Linked DNA regions of Homo sapiens: all the other regions are linked to region 3. Evidence: promoter capture Hi-C in 16 types of primary human blood cells and fetal thymus (Javierre and others, 2016). All regions are on one chromosome and are shown on one strand. Each heading gives the region's core, a stretch centred on a gene start or on the middle of the fragment in contact. The rest is flanking DNA. Distances are from core to core; before and after follow the strand shown. Region 1 holds the start of STK4 (serine/threonine kinase 4). Region 2 holds the start of PIGT (phosphatidylinositol glycan anchor biosynthesis class T). Region 3 holds the start of PCIF1 (phosphorylated CTD interacting factor 1).

The links. The method cuts DNA at HindIII sites, captures the fragments that hold promoters and counts their contacts. A CHiCAGO score of 5 or more calls a contact.
Region 1: a contact is called between the fragment with the promoter of STK4 here and the fragment with the promoter of PCIF1 in region 3, in 3 of 17 cell types (non-activated CD4 T cells, fetal thymus and neutrophils). The highest score is 8.0, in non-activated CD4 T cells.
Region 2: the fragment with the promoter of PIGT here is called in contact with the fragment with the promoter of PCIF1 in region 3 in 7 of 17 cell types (naive CD8 T cells, fetal thymus, erythroblasts and 4 more); the score reaches 7.1 in naive CD8 T cells.

Annotation. Positions count from the first base shown.
Region 1 is chr20:44,965,182-44,968,629 of GRCh38, forward strand. STK4 (serine/threonine kinase 4) reads left to right here and starts at 1,331. Exons shown (of 11, transcript NM_006282.5): 1 at 1,331-1,422. The coding sequence starts at 1,388. STK4-DT (STK4 divergent transcript) reads right to left here and starts at 1,277. Exons shown (of 3, transcript NR_038341.1): 1 at 936-1,277; 2 at 381-504; 3 at 1-267. RefSeq lists silencers at 1,156-1,405, 3,086-3,215 and an enhancer at 2,546-2,625. The HindIII fragment of the contact is 5,160 bases long and covers 1-1,894 here.
Region 2 is chr20:45,413,927-45,417,402 of GRCh38, forward strand. It overlaps PIGT (phosphatidylinositol glycan anchor biosynthesis class T), which reads left to right and starts at 2,215. Exons shown (of 12, transcript NM_015937.6): 1 at 2,215-2,417; 2 at 2,591-2,768. The coding sequence starts at 2,231. LOC107985405 (a long non-coding RNA gene) reads right to left here. Exons shown (of 2, transcript XR_001754640.2): 2 at 1-2,891. The HindIII fragment of the contact is 8,427 bases long and covers 1-3,476 here.
Region 3 is chr20:45,932,301-45,935,932 of GRCh38, forward strand. It overlaps PCIF1 (phosphorylated CTD interacting factor 1), which reads left to right and starts at 2,383. Exons shown (of 17, transcript NM_022104.4): 1 at 2,383-2,504. LOC107985388 (pre-mRNA-splicing factor cwc22-like) reads right to left here and starts at 2,771. Exons shown (of 1, transcript NR_171669.1): 1 at 1,194-2,771. RefSeq lists enhancers at 309-1,001, 1,284-1,433, 1,693-2,384, 2,385-3,075 and a silencer at 2,704-2,913. The HindIII fragment of the contact is 3,152 bases long and covers 1,503-3,632 here.

The sequences.
Region 1 (3,448 bases), core at 81-2,580, 970 kb before region 3:
GAGTCAGGACAGTCCTGGGTTAAAACCTTTGCTCTCCTTAGCTGTGTAAACCGTGGGTCTCAGCTTTCTTATCTGTTAACGGTAGGTACTTCTTCCTAGGGCTGTTTTGAGGATTAAGTGAAAGTCCAAGATTGTGTCTGGCACACAGTAGCTTCTCAGCAAATGTTTTCCTCCTATGTCAGGGAATGGCTCCTTTATCCCGTTTTGGGCCCATGGGTGGCCCTGAAGGGTGGGTGCTCAGGTGTTAAGTTCTGTAGATGGCATATCCTTGGGAAAAGCAAGGCAATTAAAAACAGTGAGAGGTTGCTCTGGTTAAGTTTTCTCCTATAACTTTCCCCATGGGTCAATTGGGTAGAATCTGCCATTTTCCTAATACTTACTGATGGTAGTGGCATTCGGAAGCACAATAGCTGAAGCCGGAGCTCTGAGTGGAGAGAAAGGTCTGTTTCTCAGGCCCAAAAAGAGGTTACACACCCATGGCTGTCCAGTTTGGTGGTGCAGGCCCTGAAATCAGACCAAACTGGATTTAAATCCCCAAACCTATACTCTAAGCTATGTGACCTTGGGCTAGATACTTCACCTCTCTGGCCTTATGAAGTAGGAATAATAATAATACCGTCTAGGTTGTTAGGAGTATTAAATGAGGTAAAGCACTGAAAACGTTTAGGGACTGTGTTAAATCATTAAATAAATAAAAACGGGGATGACCTTATCGGCTTGACACAGGGGATTAAATGAGATAATATATGAAGACAAGTACACGGCAAATGCTTAATTAATGTTGCTTATTTTTATGTCTGCAAACTGACTTAAAGGGGAGGCCTTTAAGAAAGACAGTGGGGCAATTTGCGCGTTGATGCATTGTAGGAGAAAATGTGCAGGGGGCCCGTTGGGACCAGAGTTCAACCAGGTAAGCGGCAGAAAACCACAAATACCTCCAGGCGTTCCTGGGGCAGCGCCGCCTCCCCAAAATCACGCAAAACTTGGTTTGCTAAGAATTGTCAGCTCTTCTAAAGGAGGCGCTTCACGCATCTCAGTCTGTGAAATGGGACCCAGGACCCAGGTAGAGGTGCGTTCTCGGCCTGGGGACCGAGTATTTTGTGCGCTCCGGTAACGCAGGAAGACAGCGCCACTGACACTCTAGAGACCAGCGGGCACCGCCTGGAGGCGCCTTCACCACTTGGCGGTTCCGGGTCCGCGCCCCACCGCGCCACAAGACTCACGCCCGAACCACGTGATCAGGGCCGTGGCTCCGCCCCGCTCCCGCGCCGCGCGCCGCTTCCGGTAGGGGCGGAAAGCGGAAGTGTGGGAGGGTCTGCGGGGCGGGCTCAGGAGGTCCGCGGGAGGATGGAGCAGTGAGCGGGTCTGGGCGGCTGCTGGCAGCGCCATGGAGACGGTACAGCTGAGGAACCCGCCGCGCCGGTGAGGGGCCACTGGCTAAGAGGACGGGCATGGGGTCAGGGGAAGAAAAGGCGGGAACTGGTTGAGGGGATACACCTGTGTGGGAGTCCCCGGAGCTAAGCGACCCAGCCGATGGGGCACCTGCTGAGTGAGGGGGGGGACGTCTGGTGGGTGAGGGTCCGGCTGAGGGGAGCATCTGCTAAGGAGGTTAGACTTGGGACCGGTTAGAGGGAGCACTCGCTGTGGTGAGACTGTGCTGAGGAACGTGGGGACAAGTTAGGGAGAGTACCTGCTGAGGCCGGGCCACTCGGGGGAACGCTATCCAAGCAGGGACTCACGGAGGTGGGGGCGAATGCTGAAGCAGGGTGAGAATCTGTGAGGGATCTCTTTAAGGGGGTGGATCGAGAACTGGCCAAGAGGAAGGCCGGGTGGACTTTCTAAGGGTCTGAAGTCCCACTTGAGGGGTGCGGTGGGGGGATCTGTGGAGGGGAAAAGCTTTGCGCCTAAGGCTGAAAGCATGCGAGGAAAGGTTGAGGGTCTAGCAAGGGAGGGGATGGTGGAGGGTAGCATTTCAGAGGATGCTGTTGGTGGTGTCCCCACTGTAGGATGGCATCTTTTATTACTGATGTTCAGTGTCTTCCTAATGGTCTTCACATCCTCCTCAGCTCTTCAGAACCTGACATTGGGAGGTAGGTAAGGAAATAAGAGGATATTTTCGAGATGGGGAGACTGAGGTCCAGAGTAGTTGGGAAGTGTTTCCTTCTTTACTCCGGGTCACTGAACCCTGCCAGTCTGTGCCCTTTTCAGGCCTCAGTTGTTTTGTGAATATCAGCACCAAATCCTAGTGGTACCTGGAATTGCTTTAGTTCAAGATCAGGATGGTGGCTGATCCTAGAAAATCTCAACTCCTGGATTTCCCTTGTGGACATCCCGGGTCTTTTGCCACTCTACCACATCTGGAGAAAAGTAGGGACTAGAGACCGAAGGAGTCATGCTTCTCTGAGGTTCAGTGTGGTTACTTCTATTTCACAGAGACGTCTGACTTCCTGCAGCAGAATGAGCTCTAAAGAAGGAAGTGTTCAGGGTGTGGAAGTGCAGGGCAACCAAGAGGTGAAGAGAAGGGATTGACTGCCTGGGCAGCACTCTTAGGGGTTGTTTGAGCTTGGGGATGTTTGAGGTGCACAAACATTGCAGAAGGCAAATAGGTGGTTGGGATGGGCTTTGGATTCACCCTAGCGTAGTGTGCTGAGACTGTAATAGTAATGATTATTACACTCATATTGCACTTACCGGGTGCCAGGCACTGTTCTAAGTGCTTTCCATGTGTCCTGCTGAAGCATATGAAATTGCTGATATTTGACCATTTTTGAACCATAAAAACCTCATTTGAACTCATTTGAACCTCACAACAATCCTGTGTGGTAGATATCCCTATATGTCTGTTTTACAGATGATAAAACTGAGATACAGAGGGTAGTGATTTGCTGGGAGAAGTCATAGCAAGTAAGAGACAGAGCTAGGATTTTAATGTCTATGGGGTCTGGTCCAAAGTCCATGTTCTTTTTTTTTTTTTGAGACGGAGTCTCACTCTGTCGCCCAGTCTGAAGTGCAGTGGCGCAATCTCGGCTCACTGCTACTTCCGCCTTCTGGGTTCAAGCGATTCTCCTGCCTCAGCCTCCTGTGTAACTGGGACCACAGGTGCGTGCCACCACGCCTGGCTAATTTTTTGTAGTTTTAGTAGAGACGGGGTTTCACCGTGTTAGCCAGGATGGTCTCTATCTCCTGACCTCGTGATCCGCCCACCTTGGCTTCTCAAAGTGGTGGGATTACAGGCGTGAGCCACCGGGCCCGGCCATGCTCTTAACTGCCTCACTCTGATGCCTCTCTAAAAGTACCCCTGTTTCACAGGTCTCTGTGTATGTTAGCAGATATTTACTATAGTACCATAGTGATCCAATTATGAATGCACACTAGTTATGTTTCTTTCTGAACTATGTTCGTTCGTTCTTCTTGGTTTCTTTCTCCGAGGCCTTGGTTTAATTGAAAA
Region 2 (3,476 bases), core at 965-3,464, 520 kb before region 3:
GTACAAAATAGTCATAATGATGGCAGCTACCTTTAAAAAAGTATTATTTTGAGGTTTGATAGTGTAGACTATAGTCCTAGCTCCATCACTCATTGTAATCTTTATTATCTTAGTTTATGTACTTCTTAATAATAACACTCAAGCAACCCTATCACTTAGGCACTATTATCTACATTTACATATTAGTGCCTAGGTGACAGGGTTGAGTGTTACTATTAAGCACTTGCTACATTCCATATCCTACATGTACATAATTTCTCATCTTAACAACAACCTTGAAAGTAGGTTTCTTCATTATACAAATGAAGAAAAGTGACACTTGGGTTGATCATGCTCATATGGATTAAAGGCTGGCATAGGGATTTGGACTCCTGTCTTTCTGACATCTAAGCCCATGGCCTTCCTAATATTTCGTGTCTAATGGGGCAGGAACACTGAATGCAGGCAGAATGAAGGCATAATGAGATAAAGACATCTTTCTGACATTTCCTTTCTGGAAATGTCTGGTTGGTTGGCGCATATCTTGGCAGACCTGCCTGACACCAAATTGGCTCTTTCTAGAAGTGTGGTCATGAGTGTCACCAAGAGACTGTTCATGAAATCCTTCATGAATGTGTTTCCCATAGGGCAGGTGGAAAAACTAAAGCATGACTTTAACTTTGGAACTCCGAAAAAGTCAATAAAAAGACAAGCCAGTAAACAAAGGGGTGAGGGTGCAGAAGACTTTAACAGACCTTTCACAAAAAAATAAAAATTAAATTAAAAAATAAATGGCAAATAAGCACATGAACAGATGCTTAACATTTTTAGTTACCAGGGAAATGCAAATTAAAACCACAATGAGCAAACACTACATACATACCCAAGTGGTCAAAACTAAAAAGTACAAAAAATTAGAAACTTCAAATGCTGACCAGGATGTGGTACAATGGAGACTCATAGTTTATGGAAACATAAAATGATACATTTTGGAGAAAGGTCTGACAGTTTCTTATAAAATTAAACATACACCTGCTCTCTGACCCAGCAATTCCACTCTTAAATACCTGGCCAAAGGATATGAGAAATATACGTCTACAAAGGAGCTTGCACAGACAGCAGCCTTGTTAATAATAACCAAAAACTTTAAAAGTGCCCATCAAGAGTTGAATGGATAAATTAATAATACTACGCAGTAATAAAAAGAATTGTGGATACATGCAAGAACATGGATGATTCTCAAAAACATTCTTCCCATGAGAAAAAAAAAAGCCTTACACAGTATACATACTATATGATTTCATTTATATTTAGTTCTGGAACAGATTAATCTATTGTGGGAAAAAATCAGGGTACTAACTGCCTCTGGAAGGTGATAGAGGAGCAGGGATTGACTAGGAAAGGGTATTGCTAATTTTCTGGGGTTTTAGGAATGTTCTGTATCATGATAGGAGTTCGGGTTACATAGGTGTGTGCATTTGTCAAAACTCAGTGAATGTGTACTTTGGATTTGTGCATTTCACTGTATGTGAATTTTACATCAAAATGCAATCGAATACTGAACTCTAGTTAATTATATGCATGCTTAACTACTTAAAGGAAAGTGTACTAATGTCTGCAATTTACTTTGAAGTGCACCAAAACACAAGATGGAATGATGGATGTATAGACAAATATGTGGTAAAGTACAAGTATAGTATAATGTAAATAGTAGAATCTAGGTGGTGGAAAATAGGTTTATTGTAACAGGTGCTCATTCTTTCAATTTTGTTTGAACATTTTCGTAATAAAAGAACCACTTATTTGGGGGTTTTGCAGCAAATGGAGACACTAGAAGCTAAGAGGGGCAGGAGGTTCCTCTTACTTTGGGAAATGCAAATTAAAACCACAATGGTTTTCCCAAAAGTAATTGATCTTTTTCAGTCAATGTTTCCTCAACTATCAAATGGGTAAAATGGCAGTGAAGGAGCTTCATATTATTAAGCATTTCCTGGTGGGTGGAATACGCCATGAACTAGGTGCGGCCTCAAGCTGGTTACTCGCCCTGCCTACTCCCTCTCGTGTCCTCCCAGTACCCCCTTAGACCCACCAGCTCTGAGGGAATCTTCGCGACCTGCGCAGGCGGTCGCTCTGATAACCGCATCCCGGTTTCCGGGACGACAGCGGAAGTCACTTCTCACACGCCTTTCTTATTGGATACCGGCTTTTCATGGGGCCGAGCGCCGCTGGGTAGGCGGAAGTAGCCGCAGGCATGGCGGCGGCTATGCCGCTTGCTCTGCTCGTCCTGTTGCTCCTGGGGCCCGGCGGCTGGTGCCTTGCAGAACCCCCACGCGACAGCCTGCGGGAGGAACTTGTCATCACCCCGCTGCCTTCCGGGGACGTAGCCGCCACATTCCAGTTCCGCACGCGCTGGGATTCGGAGCTTCAGCGGGAAGGAGGTGAGGGCGCGAGATCTGACCAGGGAAAGATTTCCGTAGTGCCTGCTGGCTGGCCGGCCGTGGGATGAAGGCAAACTTTGGGGGCGGGGCCTAATTCCTGGGTAGAGTTCGGGATCCTGGGTGTGGACCCCGACGAGGTGGGGATCGTCACTCACCTGCTCCCGTTTCCCCAGTGTCCCATTACAGGCTCTTTCCCAAAGCCCTGGGGCAGCTGATCTCCAAGTATTCTCTACGGGAGCTGCACCTGTCATTCACACAAGGCTTTTGGAGGACCCGATACTGGGGGCCACCCTTCCTGCAGGCCCCATCAGGTGCAGAGCTGTGGGTCTGGTTCCAAGACACTGTCACTGAGTGAGTGCACACCTTGGGCCCTGTTGCAGGCCATGGAGGGAATGTGGCTGGGAGAGTGTTGTCATCCTGCCACTGCTCTTGGGGACAGCACTTCCAGTAGGCAGCGATTCCATGGGGGTAGAGCTGGCATTGGAAGTAAGAAATGTTACCACAGATGAATAAACTTCCCAATCCTAAAACTTTCAGACCTGAGGTAGCACATGCATATCCCTGGAGAGGCAAATAGCAAACAATTAATGCTTATTTGGAGGTAAGGCAGTAGAAAACTGGCAACTGGATAACCTTTTAAAAGGCATTCATTAATATTTTTTAAATGATAATAAATACCACGAAAGCCAACCATAACATATCTGTGGGTTACAACTGGCCAACAGGATGCTACATCACAGTGTTAGAGGAACTGCTTTTGTTTGGGAGGGGGCAGGTCTAGTTACTGTGCCTACTACAAACCGCTATTTCCCAGTGGCTGCTGTGGCTATCCTGTTTAGAATAGAACCTTTCTGTGCAGTGGTTGCAAACAGGTCTACATGGGCCACACAGGTAAGGAATGAATAAAGGTATTTTTAAAATTGACAAACACAGGAATGAGAAATATATCTCATTTTCCTCTTAATCCCACTATAAGAAATCAATAGTGCAAGTATGATATAACAAGTTTTAGGGCAATAAAAAGGAGCAGCAGGAATTGTGGCAGGCTAGAGAGTTTGT
Region 3 (3,632 bases), core at 1,133-3,632:
CGCTCCAACCTGTTTGCTCATGTGCAGATTTAGGTAATAATTCACAGAATTCCATGATAAAACAGAAGACTAGGCACTTGGGATGTTTGGTATCTTGGTTATCAATTAAGAGAATCTGAACAATGAATGAGAAAATACTTTGAAAACATAAAAGAATAGATAAAAGGCCGGGCGCGGTGGCTCACGCCTGTAATCCCAGCACTTTGGGGGGCCGAGGCGGGCGGATCATGAGGTCAGGAGTTTGAGACCAGCCTGGCCAACATCGTGAAACACCGTCTCTACTAAAAATACAAATAAAATTAGGTGGGAGTGGTGGCGGGTGCCTATAATCCCAGCTACTTGGGAGGCTGAGGCAGGAGAATTGCTTGAACCCGGGAGGCAGAGGTTGTAGTGAGCCGAGATCGCGCCACTGCAATCCAGCCCGGGCGACAGTGCGAGATTTCGTCTCAAAAAAAAAAAAGGGTAATAATCACTACATGGTTTTTAAACTTTAGTGAAAGCGCGGGCTAGCTGGGGGGCATGAGCATGGAAAACTGGTTATCCCGTAGGTCAAGAGCGACCACGTAGTTTACTGCCCAAAGCAGTACTTTTTTTTGAGACAGGAGTCTCACTCTGTCGCCCAGGCTGGAGTGCAGTGGCGCGATCTCGACTCACTGCAACCTCTGCCTCCCGGGATCATGTGATTCTCCTGCCTCAGCCTCCCGAGTAGCTGGGATTACAGGCGCGCGCCACCAGGCCTGGCTCATGTTTGTAATTTTAGTAGAGACGGGGTTTCGCCGTGTTGGCCAGGCTGGTCTTGAATTCCTGACCTCAGGTGGTCCACCTGCGTCGGCCTCCCAAAGTGCTGGGATTACCGGGGTGAGCCACCACGCCCGGCCCAAAGCAGGGCACTTCTGAAAAAGGAGGCAATATTAGTAATTATGCCAGGGCAGCAGGCATAAATCAAAGCTGGCCCCCCACCCTTCCAGAACTGAGACAGGACCCAGGAGTCTGGTTTCCCATCAGGCCTCTTATCTGAACGAGAAGCTCTGCGAGGGCAGAACTGCTGTGCCTATATAGAGCTGGCTTATTTCTGGAGGGCTCAAATCTACTTGGAGCAATGCTCATGCCACTGTGAGATGATCACGGCTAACCGATTCAGCACTTAGGAAGCGCCAGGTATTGCGCTGAGGACTTCACATGCATCACCTGAGTTAATTCTCACCAAACCTTTATGAGGTAGGCGGATTTATTATCTTCCACTGAGGAAACTAAAATTTAAATTGGTTAACTCCTTCAAGGCCACACATTTTGGGTGGAGGAGCAGGGATTGAAATCAGATGAGGATCATGAACCCTCGTTCTCAATTACTACTCATATCGGTGCCTCCGTTTTTCTTGAGCGTCCGCCTGCCTGCCCCCACGCTGGCGTGCAGCCAGGACCATGGACATCTGAGAGGCTACTCAGCCGGGGTACCTACAGCCCCTGGCTCCACACAAGCGCCGGTCTGACAGCAGGTGGCAAGCTTTTCCTCTTCTCAAGCTAGCACTGGAAGGGATGCTTGCTGGGGAGACCGGAGATGGGTGGAGCTACCACTCGGACGCCTGCAGGCTCCTACCAAAAAGAATCCTGCAGGGAGCCGGATGAGGAGCACCTCACAGCTGCCAGTTCCCTGCCAGGCTACCCGCTGTAGCTGGTTTGAGGGCTCAGTGAGGCTTTGAACTGCAACTAATGGCCACAGATGTCAATGTTGGAAAGGCCCTACAATGCATTTAGTTGATTTCCCAACTCTGCCGAAAGCCATCTCTATTACTTGCCCCCGAAGGCTAGTTTAAGTTGCTTCTACTCAAGAGCATTTACAGCTTGGGTTCGATGTATATGTAGCCCGGGCATGGGGCAGGGCTTCTTAACATTTGGACACCACGCAGCACAAAGGCCCAGAGAGGGAAAGAGACTGGCTGGAAGAGGCAGAGCCGCGCGGGTGCCAGGACCCAGGTCCTTGCTACGTCCGGAGCCTACGTCACCACGATGCCTCCCCTGGGCCGGCGGCAGAACCCGAGACCCCCGCAGGTTCTAAGACAGCCCCCACGCCCCCCAGTGCGCACGCTCAGTCCAACCCCGCCGCGCACCGCCCACCGCGAACATCCGGCTCCTGCGTGTGTGCTCGAGGGGGAAACTGAGGCGGGGACGTGCCAGTGAATTCATTCCTTCCTCAGTCCACCCGCAGGCCTACAAAGCTGTCTCCCCTTCCTCAGCGCCACAAGGAACAGCAGGGACGGATGGGAAGAAGGGGAGGGGGCCGAAAGCAAGCTGGGTGCGAGGAGCCAGCCGACCCTGCCACACTCAAGATGGCGGCGCGGCCGCGGCGAGGTCCCTCAGAGGCGGTACCAGCGCATGCGCAGCGCGGAGTCCCGGCCCGGGACACAAGATGGCGGCAGCGGCGCTGGGGAGGGCGAGGCGGAGGCGGCAAAACGGGCGGTCGAGCAGAACGTGTAGCCGCGTCCCCTCCAGTCCGCTCCGGGCAGGTAAGAGTCCCAGGAAGCCATGGTCCCGCAGCGAGCCGCGCCAGGGTCTGGGGATCCGAAGCTGGGGGGCGGCGGCCCCTCCGGCGCTTTCTGCTCGGGACTGCCGCTTGCCCTGTCTCTGTTGCCGCCGCCATCTTAGACCCGCGGGTGGGCGGCCGCGCCGGTGGCCGAAGTGAGGGAGGTGGGCCCGGAGAGCCCCAGCGGAGCGGGCTCTAGGGCCCCTCCGCTGCTGCCGCCGCCACCGCCTTTGTGTCGGGCTCCGACTCTGAGTCGCCTCAGCCCGGGGGCGGGAGCGCGCGGCGGGGCGGGGGGCGGAGCCCGAGAGATGGGCCGGCGCGCGCGCGCGCGCCAAACAGCCCACCCTCGCTGGGGTAGGGGGAGGGGAAGGTGCGCGCGCGCGCGCGCGCTGGAGCTCGCCTCTCGCCTTCGTGCGCCGTCGCGCCTGCGTACTTTGTTCGCCCTTTGACTCCTCCCTACTGGGCCGGAGAATTCTGATTGGTACATTGCGGAGATGGTCCCGCCCCACGTGCCTCCAATCCCGGACTCGGACTCTGGCTTCTGGTGGGTTTTTCTGGTTGCGCAGATAGAGTTGTTTATCCTTGAGCAGCGGTAATTCTCAAACTGCGGTATGCGTGGGGGTCGGGAAGCCACAGGATAAATAAAGACGTTAACTTAAGAGCAGTTATGTCTTACTGGGAGCGTACAATGCTGGACTCTACATATAACGGTCGAGTGATTCCGGTTTATAAGCCGGAAAGCAGAAGGGCCCGGAATCCGGGTCTGTCCAACCCAGGGGCTGGTACTTCGGCCACAGACCTGCTGCGCTCAAGTCACATAGGAAATTAAAAATGGTTTTAATTGCAAAAAATGGGTACATTTTTTCAAATAGTGTGAAAAAATGAGTCATCCTGTCTCCCAGTCACTCTTACGGTGCGTTTTAAAAATACAAATTCTTGTGTGCCTCACCTCCGTATTTATTTCTGGCTTCTGAGATGCGCAGTGAGGCACAGGAGTCTGATTTTTTTTTTTTTTTTACAAACTCCAAGATGATTCTGATGCACAGCTGGCTTTGGAAATACTGCAGTGTCCCCATTTAGCCTCACACTAAGCTGTGCCGCTTGTGCGTAT